Linked DNA regions of Homo sapiens: region 1 is linked to region 2. Evidence: promoter capture Hi-C in 16 types of primary human blood cells and fetal thymus (Javierre and others, 2016). All regions are on one chromosome and are shown on one strand. Each heading gives the region's core, a stretch centred on a gene start or on the middle of the fragment in contact. The rest is flanking DNA. Distances are from core to core; before and after follow the strand shown. Region 1 has its middle 9.3 kb from the start of RAB11FIP4. Region 2 holds the start of RNF135 (ring finger protein 135).

Region 1 (5,655 bases), core at 1,886-4,385, 410 kb after region 2:
TTATAATTTTAATCAGTTGGTTTGGCTTTTTTAAAAAATTGTCTTCTAAAAATCGGTTTATACTGTGTGTGTACATACATACTACATATGCATATGTGGATGCGTATTTCAGGTTTCCAAAACAGCTTGATACATTTTACCTACATTGGGCCAAATTATTTTGTCTTTTTAAATTTTCTCAAAAAGGTCATATTGCAAAATTATTCTAGGTCCTTTACTATGTCTTTATGCTGACAGTCAAGCTAATAGTGATCAAGAGCATTATGCTTCTGGGGTTACAAGGTTCAGAACTTGCCCCATTGGCCACTTCCTCTATATAAAATAAGACAGTCACATTGGAATCTTAATAGGGCCCTTTCCTGCTCAGAAGTTCAGAAAGCATTGCCTAAATTAATATTTTTAAGGGAAGAAAATGTTGACAGATGCAACCTTAGCTGATTGTTCAAAAAAAGTTTTTCCTTTGGTTATAATTGTAAATACAAAAGAAGAAAGCTTGGCCTTTGTCCTCTATGACCTCATGACTTAGTGGGGAAAACAGCCACACAAACAATGACCACAGTGTCCCAAGGTGTGGGTGGGGTTTTTAGAGGGTCATGGAGTGACTGGCATGGTTGGCAACTGAGGAGGTGGGTCTTAAAGAATGACCAAGAAGTTTGTCCAGGTTGAAATGTGTCCAGTGAGCAGTTGAAAATAGGGTTTTGGAGTATTTAATGGACAGAAGGTAATCAAGTCCGTTAACAGACTGGCCCAGAGACGGATCACGAGGTCAGGAGATCGAGACCATCCTGGCTAACACGGTGAAACCCCGTCTCTACTAAAAATACAAAAAATTAGCCAGGCATTGTGGTGGGCGCCTGTAGTCCCAGCTACACGGGAGGCTGAGGCAGGAGAATGGCATGAACCTGGGAGGCGGAGCTTGCAGTGAGTGAGATCGTGCCACTGCACTCCAGCCTGGGTGACAGAGCGAGACTCCATCTCAAAAAAAAAAAAAAAAAAGAGAGAGAGGAGACTGGCCCAGAGAGGGCAAGTAGCAGATAAGTGTTTAGGCAGAAAGCAGCACACCACAGGAGATTGGCTTCTCGTGTTATTTTTCTCCATTCTTTTGTCCCACGTTGGGGAATGCAGCTTAATTTTCTACATTTACAAAGTATATGGGCCAGGCGCAGTGGCTTACGCCTGTAATCCCAACACTTTGGGAGGCCGAGGTGGGCAGATTACCTGAGGTCAGGAGTTGGAGACCAGCCTGACCAACATGGAGAAACCCCATCTCTACTGAAAATACAAAATTAGCTGGACATGGTGGCACATGCCTGTAATCCCAGCTACTCGGGAGGCTGAGGCAGGAGAATCGCTTGAACCAGGAAGCAATGGTTGCAGTGAGCCGAGATCGCGCCATTGCACTCCAGCCTGGGCAACAAGAGCGAAACTCCGTCTCAAGAAAAAATAAAAACAAAAAATACGTGAAGATATGCCTTAGCCCCAGATCACAAAAATAGCAACACTTTTTCTATCCTGGCAATTATAAATGTTTTGAGTCTGGCCCAAAGTTGAAGTAGAAAGAAATTGATGGTAAAGAGATACTTTCTTTGCAATTTGGTAATTTGTGAATGGAAGGCAGAAAGGAATTAGGTGATCTGTGCCTTCATTAAAAAAGACTCCACAAATACCACCCTTACTCATATCTAGGATTCTACAGGAGACAAAAATTCATTATCAAAATACCAAGTCTTTTTGAGTGTGCAGCAGTCATTCAGCAAAACATTTTCTGGGTGCCTTGTTGTCACTCAATTTGAGCACCAGCACCTCTTGGAAATGCTTTCTGATCTCCCATTGGCTGAGAGCCCTTCTCTTGCTTCTGTGACAGCTTCTCTATACAACAACTTTGTAATCATCAACTATCTTCCTATGTCCCTGGTTAGGATTATGAGCCTCCCAGTGTAGGGAACATGCTTTGTTCAAAGGTGCTCAATAGATAGTTGTTGAATAACACTGAAGGCTTTATGTTATAAAGAACTATATAAATAGAATGGGAAAATCCCCATACACAATAGCAACCCCAATGCAAAATCCCTAACAAAATAGAGGTGACCTGTGTAATAAAGACCTATTGAAAATTCTAATCCAGACTTTGAGATTTCACAGATCAGTAAAATTTCCAAAATACATTTCATCAACTTATGCATTTAGAAACAAGAAAAAAATATATCTAACATAGTTTTTTTGTAAAACGCCATTTCAACTCTGAGTAGTGGGGGAGGGAATCACAGGATAAAGTACAGTTCTTTAAAAGAAATTAGTTTTGCTTTATAAAAGTCACTATGTTGTCCTCAGTTTTCTCTCATTGCTGCTTATTTTTCTCCACACAGCACTGCTCAGCACGCAGGCATGTGAGGAAGCTGGGCTTAAAGGAGACTCCAGCAAATGGAGAGACAGACCACAGTCCTGGGTTGGAAAGCTGAATATCGTTGAATGCCAGATCTTCCCAAATAAATGAACTGGCTTAATACAATTCTGATCAAGATGCCAACAAGAAGAGAGTGTATCCAGACAAAATGATCTTTGGAAAATATTCTTCACCTTGTGGAATAAACAGGAAAGCATGGCTAACAACGGGTTGTCGAAAACTTCCTTATTAGGTAGTAAAACAAATTTTTAAATGCTTAAATACTAATGGTAATTAGAGTAAATATAAAGTGGAACAGGCTAGAAGGTCCAGATTATGCTTTGATTTTTTTATTTAAAAAGACAAGCATGAGTAACTCCCAAAGTGTATTGGCTTCAAAGCCACAAAAGCTTATTTCTCACCTCTGCTACATGTCCATCACCCGTTATCAGGAGGCTCTGCTCACCCTGATGTCTTGGGACTCCAGAGTGAGTGATCAGCCATCTCTGATCACTCACTCATTTGATCTACAAATGGCTAGCCATCATGCCAGAGGGAAGGAGCTCAGGCTGTAATGTCCAGCCGCTGTGATGATGGAAATGTTCTGCTGGAAGCTGAAACAGAGGGGTCCCATTTTCATTTGTCACATTAGCAAAGACGTACTTAACTAATATTGGTGCCAGTCCAGAATGTGGTGCAATGAGTTCTTCCTGCACTTGGCCTCATCTTTCTGTATTACCAGTTCCATATCTGCACTGTCCAGGACAGTGGCCACTAGCCACATGTGGCCATTGAACACTTGAAATGTGGTTAGTGAGAATGGGAAACTAAACTTTTATATTAAATAAATGTAAATAGTTACATGTGGCTACTGGCTGCTAGATTGGACAGAGCAGCATCTGGAAGCTCTTGCATCAGCAATTAAAGGCTTGAGGACAGATACACAGTCACTTTTCACAGTCATTGCCAGAACTTGACACACAGCTTCACAAAGTCACAAGGGTCAAAAATCACTATCTTCCTCTGTTCAAAAGGGAAAGAGCTGGAAACATTGGCCAAGAACATTAATGACTCCTACAATAGGGAAGGACTTTGTAAGCTTAAAAGCAGTGTAAGTGCAGTGGCTCACGCCTGTAATCCTAGCACTTCAGGAGGCCGAGGCGGGTGGATTGCCTGAGCTCAGGAGTTCAAGACCAGCCTGGGCAACATGGGCCTCTCTACCAAAATACAATACGTTCTCGGGCGTGGCGGCATGTGCCTGTAATCCCAGCTGCTCAGGAGGCTGAGATAGGAGAATTGCTTGAACCCGGGAGGCGGAGGTTGCAGCGAGCTGAGATTGTGCCATTGCATTCCAGCCTGGGTGACAGAGCAGGACTCCGTCTCAAAAAAAAAAAAAAAAAGCAGTGTAAGCTTAAAAGCAGAAATCCTAAGGGTCCCGCATTGACTGCCTAACATTAAAATGTCCCCATGTCCAAAAAAATCACACACAAAATTAAAAGGCCAACCAATAGGGAATTATAAAGAGTTCATAAAAACTCATCTAAAGAAAAAACCTAAGCAGAAAGAAAAATGGGCAAAGAACATGAATGGCCAATCCACAGAAATATTGTACCAACTCCTGTTTATGATGGAAAAGGTCATCACACTCATTAGTAAACAAAAAGAAATACAAACTGAAACAATGGGATACCTGATACATATTTTCACTTGTCACATTAGCAAAGACACTTAACTAATACTTGGTGCAGGTCAAGAATGTGGTGCGATGAGTTCTTCCTGCAGATGGCCTCATCTCTCTGTATTACCAGCCTTAAAAATGTCCATACTGGCTGGGCGTGGTGGCTTATGCCTGTAATCCTAGCACTTCAGGAGGCTGAGGCAGGTGGATCAGCTGAGGTCGTGAGTTTGAGACCAGCCTGACCAACATGGAGAAACCCCCGTCTCTACTAAAAATACAAAATTAGCCGGGCGTGGTGGTGCATGCCTGTTAATCCCAGCTACTCAGGAGGCTGAGGCAGAAGAATCACTTGAACCCGGGAGGCGGAGGCTGTGGTGAGCTGAGATTGCGCCATTGCACTCCAGTCTGGGCAACAAGAGCGAAACTCCGTCTCAAAAAAAAAAAAAAAAAAAAAAGTCCATACCATTCGCCCTAGTAATTATCTAGGAATCTATTCTGGAGAAACAAATGGTAAAAGAGTGAAGACTTTCATCAAAGTATTATAATATCAGAAAACCTGAAGACAACCAAAATATTGGTTAAATTATCTACATTCATCCAGCACTTTCTGGAAGCTGACCACTTCCTTATGCAGCCTTTAAAAATGGCCTAATAATATTTAAATTTTGGGAGGGAACTTCCAATAAAATCAAGAGTTTTAAAACCACATAAGAGGGCTAATTCCCAATTATATAAATACAAATATATGTGTATAGTTTTTGCATAGGATAAAGAAAAGGAAATGTATTGAATGTTAACAATATGTATGGCTCACTTACTCCTTTTTGTGTCTATCTTCTAAGCATTTTACAATGATTATTGCTTTGAAAACAAAAAGGGTTTTAAGAGATGAGGATAATGCTTACTTTTAGTTGTACTAAAAAGGATGTTTATGATAGCAGAGTTTAGGTATTACATTAACTACCACCTCTTGGATGTTTTTACCTTTATCTTTTTCCTTTTATCAAAAGGTAGCTCTTTACTAATTCGGATTACAGGGAGCTGGGTTTGTTTTCCTTCCTTAGGGGAGTATCAGCATAACTAGTTTAGAGTGGTGCAGGTGAACTGCTGTCAACTCCGTAGGCCAACCCTAAACCTTCACTGTTATTTTATAACTTCTACTCAACAGCTTGCAACCTTTCAAGGTTAACAAGGTTGATGGGGAATGGTCCTTGCTCTCAAGAAGCTCGTAGGCGGCCAGGCACTGTGGCTTATGCCTGTAATCCCAGCATTTTGGGAAGCTGAGGCAGGTGGATCACCTGAGGTCAAGAGTTCAAGACCAGCCTGGCCAACATGGTGAAACCCCATCTCTACTGCAAATACAAAAAATTAGTAGCCGGGCGTGGTGGCTCACGCCTGTAATCCCAACACTTTGGTAGGCCGAGGCGAGTGGATCACCTGAGGTCGGGAGTTCGGGACCAGCCTGACCAACACGGAGAAACCCTGTCTCTACTAAAAGTACAAAATTAGCCAGGGATGGTGGCATGTGCCTGTAATCCCAGCTATTTGGGAGGCTAAGGCACAAGAATCGCTTTGAACCTGGGAGACAGAGGTT
Region 2 (5,873 bases), core at 2,733-5,232:
CAGAGTCTTGCTCTGTTGCCCAGACTGGAGTGCAGTGGTGCCATTTCAGCTCACTACAACCTCCGTCTCCTAAGTTCAAGCAATTCTCCTGCCTCGGCCTCTGGAGTAGCTGGGACCTCAGGCCACCATGCCCAGCTAATTTTTGTATTTTTTGGTAGAGGCAGGGTTTCACCAGGTTGGCCAGGCTGGTTTCAAACTCCTGACCTCAAGTGTTCCGCTCACCTTGGCCTCTCAAAGTGCTGGGATTACAGATGTGAGCCACCGTGCCTGGGCATAAATGCATTTTTGAAAGAAATGAGCCCATCTGTCTTATTAATAGCTATCATTCCAATAAAATGTTTACTGTCTTTAAAAGTTATTTTATTTATATAAAAGTTATAAATTGCAGCATACTTTTCTTTTGTTTGACTGCTAATAGTAATTATATTGATAATTAAATCCAGGGGAAAAAATTTACCAAGAGCCTTTTTGTCACAGGAAGTTAAGAAGAATTAAAAATTTAATACACATACATACTTTTGTTGTAGAGAAGTATTACAAAGTGATAAAAGACTTTCATGCATGAAATATATTGCTTTGGAATGTAATTCTGTGGAGGAAATGGAATGGAAATACAAGTTCAGAAAGATAAAAGAATGACAAAATTTCTTTTTTTTTTTTTTTGAGACGGAGTCTTGCCCTGTTGCCGAGGCTGGAGTGCAATGGTGCCATCTTGGCTCATGGCAACCTTCACCTCCCGGGTTCAAATGATTCTCTTGCCTCAGCCTCCTGAGTAGCTGGGATTACAGGTGCCTGCAACTACGCCCAGCTAATTTTTTTTTGTATTTTTCGAACTCCTGACCTCATGATCCGCCTGCCTCGGCCTCCCAAAGTCCTGGGATTACAGGCATGAGCCACCGCACTCGGCCAAGAATGACAAAATGTCTGATGTAGGCTGAGCGCGGTGGCTCACCTCTGTAATCCTAGCACTTGGGAGGATGAGGTGGGCGGATCACCTGAGGTCAGGAGTTCGAGACAAGCCTGGCCAACATGGAGAAACCCTGTCAACATGGGGAAACCCCATCTCTACTAAAAATACAAAATTAGCCGGGCATGGTGGCGAGCGCCTGTAATCTCAGCTACTCCGGAGGCTGAGGCAGGAGAATGGTTTGAACCCGGGAGGTGGAGGTTGCAGTGAGACGAGATTGTGCCACTCCACTCCACTCCAGCCTGGGCAACAAAGTGAGACTCCATCTCAAAAAAAAAAAAAATCTGATATAAATGAAGAATTTGCTAATATATTTTTACTACCAGAGCTGACCACTCTCCCCCTTCCCCCTTTCTTTCTTTCTTTTTTTTTTTTCTTTTGAGACAGAGTCTTGCTCTGTCGCCCAGGCTGGAGTGCAGTGGTGCGAACTCAGCTCACTGCAAGCTCCGCCTCCTGGGTTCAGGTCATTCTCCTCCCTCAGCCTCCTGAGTAGCTGGGACTACAGGCTCCCGCCGTCACGCCCGGCTAATTTTTTTTGTATTTTTTAGTAGAGACGGGGTTTCACCGTGTTAGCCAGAATGGTCTCAATCTCCTGACCTCATGATCCGCCCGCCTCAGCCTCCCAAAGTGCTGGGATTACAGGCGTGAGCCACTGCGCCCGGCCCCCACTTCCCCCTTTCTTATAACCACTGCATGATTTTGCATAAAACTTTTAGGGCGTGTCCAAGAAAAAAGTTTGAAAACTACTGGTTAACTCACTCTTTCCAGAAACTTGGCTGTGAAATGGAGAAGAGGAGAGCTGGTTCCAGGGAGGCTCAGGTCAAAGGTGATTTTATTTTATTTTTTAATTTTTAATTTTTTTGAGACTAGGTCTAGCTCCTTCCCCAGGCTGGAGTGAAGTGGTGTGATCACAGCTAACCACAGTCTTGACCTCCTGAGATCTCATGGCTCATTACAGCCTCCACCTCCCTGGCTCAAGCAATCCTCCCACCTCAGTCTCCTGAGTAGCTGGGATCACAGGCCTGCGCTACCATGTCTAGGTAGTTTTTGTATTTTTTTTGTAGAGGCAAGGTTTCACCATGTTGCTCAGGCAGGTCTCGAACTCCTGAGTTCAGGCAATCCACCTGCCTCAGCCTCCCAAAGTGCTGAGATTACAGGCATAAGCCACCACGCCCCGCCAGTGATTTCATTTTTTAAGTTGGAAGATCTGAGCATGTTTAAGTGTTTAGTATCATGCCCGTTTTACAGAAAAAAAGAGGCTCTTAGAAACTACGATTTTACTCCGATGCGGAGATTCTAGAACAAGATCCAGGTAATACATCAGTCAGGATAGGCTAGGTTATGCTGTAGCAGCACACACCCACTAAATCTCAGTAAGCTGAATACATCCTAGTTTTCTTCTCCCTCTTACTACGTATCCTAGGGTGCGTTGGCAGGGAGTCTGCTCATCTTAGCCACTCAGTGACCCAGGTCACCGGATGATGGTTTCATCTCCATAATTGGGGCAGCTGGCAGAAAGGGATACAATGGCCGGCTCAGTCGCCTTTAAAGCTGGTGGGAAGTAACATATTACCTCTGTGTGTTTCAAGTGGGTCAGGGAAGTGCCAGTCCTACCATGTGCCCAGAAAGGGAAAGCACTGGAAACGTTGATGAGCAGCGCTGCCTACTCCATGACACTTCCAGTATTAGAAATAACCACAAACGCTTTTTTTTCTTTCTTTTCTTTCTTTTTTTTCTTTTTTTTTTTTTTTTTTTTTTTGAGACGGAGTCTCCCTATGTCGCCCAGGCTGGAGTGCAGTGGCGCAGTCTTGGCTCACTGAAACCTCCGCCTCCCGGGTTCAAGAGATTCTCCTGCCTCAGCCTCCCAAGTAGCTGGGATTACAGGCATGCGCCAGGGCGCCTGGCTTTTCTTTTCTTTTCTTTTTGTATTTTCAGTAGAGATGAGGGTTCACCATGTTGGCCAGGCTGGTCTTGAACTCCTGACTTCAAGTGATCCAAAGGTCGGCTACAAACTTGTATTATCTGATACCTACTTTGAGCCCAGGCCAGAAAGGATAAAGTAAAGCATGAGACGTTGTTAGTTCATTTCAACAGATTGGGGAGTTGTGGGTTTTAGTCTCTGACGCTTCATTGTTACCATGAGAGCCTGCAAGTTTTTCTTTTTTCTCTTTTTTTTTTTTTTAACCTCTTTGGGTCATCTGGGAGGACGTGGTGCTCTTTTAGCTCTAACATTTTCTGGTTGCAATGCGTTTAGGACTGGGATGCGAAGTGAGTGAGTGAGTGAGCCTTCTCAGGAAAACACTTTCTAGAATTTTGTCCGAGTGTCTGTTGGGAAACGCGCTTACATCCCGCAGAAGGCGGTAAGGACACAGCGCACAACTCTGCATTATACCTGCGAGTTAAAAAGCCAAGGGTTCGCTCACTCAACCTTGAATGCGCGTCAGAATCACCTGGGGGAGGTTTTACAAAATACCCGTGCTCCACCCAAGACAATGAAATCAGACTCCCTGCGAGCGGGGCCGAACATCAGCATTTTTGAGGACGCTCCCTGTGGCTGTGCATCGGTGATCTTTAATCCCCTGCTACTTGTTAGAGGAGCTGGATGACACTTCGTGGGCTCATTCTCATAAATAAGCTGCTGAATGGAGTCCTCTCCTCCCAAGAGTTGTCGGTGTTGCATCTTTTTTGTTGTTTATTTTTTTTTAAGCCAACGGACGAAGACATCCAACGGTGCTGCATCTTAATGGAGGGACATCCAGCTAAAGGGAATCTTGGAGACCTCCGCGGGTTTCTAGCAGCTCGCGGCATGTTGGTTTCCCAGGGCAAGAGGCCGCCACTGAAGGTCAGCTCTGTCTTTCCAGCTGGGCACTGGAGGCTCTAAGTCTGTTTTCAGCAGGATCGGAGGAAGGAGACGGGGTGGCGCCAAGGAAGGAGGAGAAAAGGCGGCCGAGAAAAGGAGGAGGGCAAGGGGAAGAGGAAGGGCGAGGGAGGAGCCTGAGGAGACTCGCCCGGCTCAACCCCGACGTCCGCGCCCCGGCCGCCTGTTGGCCATGGCGGGCCTGGGCCTGGGCTCCGCCGTTCCCGTGTGGCTGGCCGAGGACGACCTCGGCTGCATCATCTGCCAGGGGCTGCTGGACTGGCCCGCCACGCTGCCCTGCGGCCACAGCTTCTGCCGCCACTGCCTGGAGGCCCTGTGGGGCGCCCGCGACGCCCGCCGCTGGGCCTGCCCCACTTGCCGCCAGGGCGCCGCGCAGCAGCCGCACCTGCGGAAGAACACGCTACTGCAGGACCTGGCCGACAAGTACCGCCGCGCCGCACGCGAGATACAGGCGGGCTCCGACCCTGCCCACTGCCCCTGCCCGGGCTCCAGTTCCCTCTCCAGCGCGGCCGCGAGGCCCCGGCGCCGCCCGGAACTGCAGCGGGTAGGGAGGCCGGGCCCGCAGCTCCCCTGGCTCCCCCGGGCTGCCCGCCGCCTGACCCTTTCCCATGTGGCTCGAACCCCTTTCCTCAGCCGTTCTACTTTTACGTTCCTTTTCTCAGTCTAAAAGTCGAGTTCCGCTCTTCGGAGGCACTTTGGAAAGTTCATAAAAGTATGAAGAAGTAGAAAAAAACAAATTCCCCATCTTCCGAAAGCTTGTCAACTTAGCTGTTACACAGCTTGGCATATTTCAACTTCTTCCCAATCGATCTTCGGTCTCTTTCTCTGAAACTTGTAAAATTGTGGTAAGATCTATATAACATTAAAACTGGCCATTTTAACCTTTTTCTTTATTTCTTTGAGACGGAGTCTCGCTCTGTCGCCCAGGCTGGATGGAGTGCAATGGCGTGCGTGATCTCGGCTCACTGCAACCTCCGCCCCCCAGGGTCGAGTGATTCTCTTGCTTCAGGCTCGAGAGTAGCTGGGATTACAGGCGTGCGCCATCACGCCCGGCTAATTTTGGTATTTTTAGTAGAGACGGGGTTTCGACATGTTAGCCAGGCTAGTCTCAAACTCTTGACCACAGATGATCCGTCCGCCTCGGCCTCCCAAAGTGCTGGGATTACAGTCATGAGCCACAGCGCCTGGCCTCATTTTAACCTTTTATTTTTTTGAGACGGAGTTTTGCTTTGTGGCCCAGGCTGGAGTGCAGTGGCGCCATCTTGTCTCACTGCAAGCTCCGCCTCCCGGGTTCACGCCATTCTCCTGCCTCAGCCTCCCGAGTAACTGGGACTACAGGCGCCCGCCACCACGCCTGGCTAATTTTTTGTATGTTTTTTTCTTTTTTTAAAAAATAGGGACGGGGTTTCACCGTTGTTAGCCAGGATGGTCTCGATCTTCTGACCTCGTGATCTGCCCGCCTCGGCTTCCTAAAGTGCTGGGATTACAGGTGTGAGCCACCGCGCCCCGCCTATTTTAACCATTTTTAAGTGTACAATTCAGTGACAAATTAGTTACATTTCCTGTTGTGCAACTATCACTTCTGTTTCCAAAACTGTTTCATCATCATAAACAGAAACTTTGTACTCATTAAGCAGTAACTCCTCATTTCTCCTCCCTCTAGCCCCTGCTCACATCTAAGCTACTTTCTGTATCTGAGTTTGCCTGTTCTAGATATTTCATATAACTGGAATCGTTCAATGTTTGTCCCTTTGTGCCTGGTTTCTTTCACTTAGCATAGTGTTTTCAAAGTTCATTCATGTTGTAGCATGTGTCAGAACTTTATTCCTTTTATGGGGCTGAATGATATTCCATTGGGTGGATGTGCCACATTTTTTTTGTTTGTTTTGTTTTGAGATGGAGTCTTGCTCTGTTGCCAGGCTGGAGTGTAGTGGCATGATCTTGGCTCACTGCAACCTCTGCCCCCTGGGTTCAAGTGATTCTCCTGCCTCAGCCTCCCAAGTAGCTGGGACTACAGGCATGCACCAC

The links. The method cuts DNA at HindIII sites, captures the fragments that hold promoters and counts their contacts. A CHiCAGO score of 5 or more calls a contact.
Region 1: a contact is called between a fragment that was not itself captured here and the fragment with the promoter of RNF135 in region 2, in 1 of 17 cell types (endothelial precursors). The highest score is 5.5, in endothelial precursors.

Annotation. Positions count from the first base shown.
Region 1 is chr17:31,379,507-31,385,161 of GRCh38, forward strand. No RefSeq gene overlaps it. Among named protein-coding and RNA genes, the nearest start is that of RAB11FIP4, 9.3 kb to the right of the region's middle. The HindIII fragment of the contact is 689 bases long and covers 2,792-3,480 here.
Region 2 is chr17:30,967,057-30,972,929 of GRCh38, forward strand. RNF135 (ring finger protein 135) reads left to right here and starts at 3,983. Exons shown (of 5, transcript NM_032322.4): 1 at 3,983-4,389. The coding sequence starts at 4,018. RefSeq lists enhancers at 3,119-3,208, 3,269-3,328, 3,397-3,958, 3,609-3,858, 3,959-4,520 and 1 more and a silencer at 3,939-4,478. The HindIII fragment of the contact is 12,676 bases long and covers 1-4,598 here.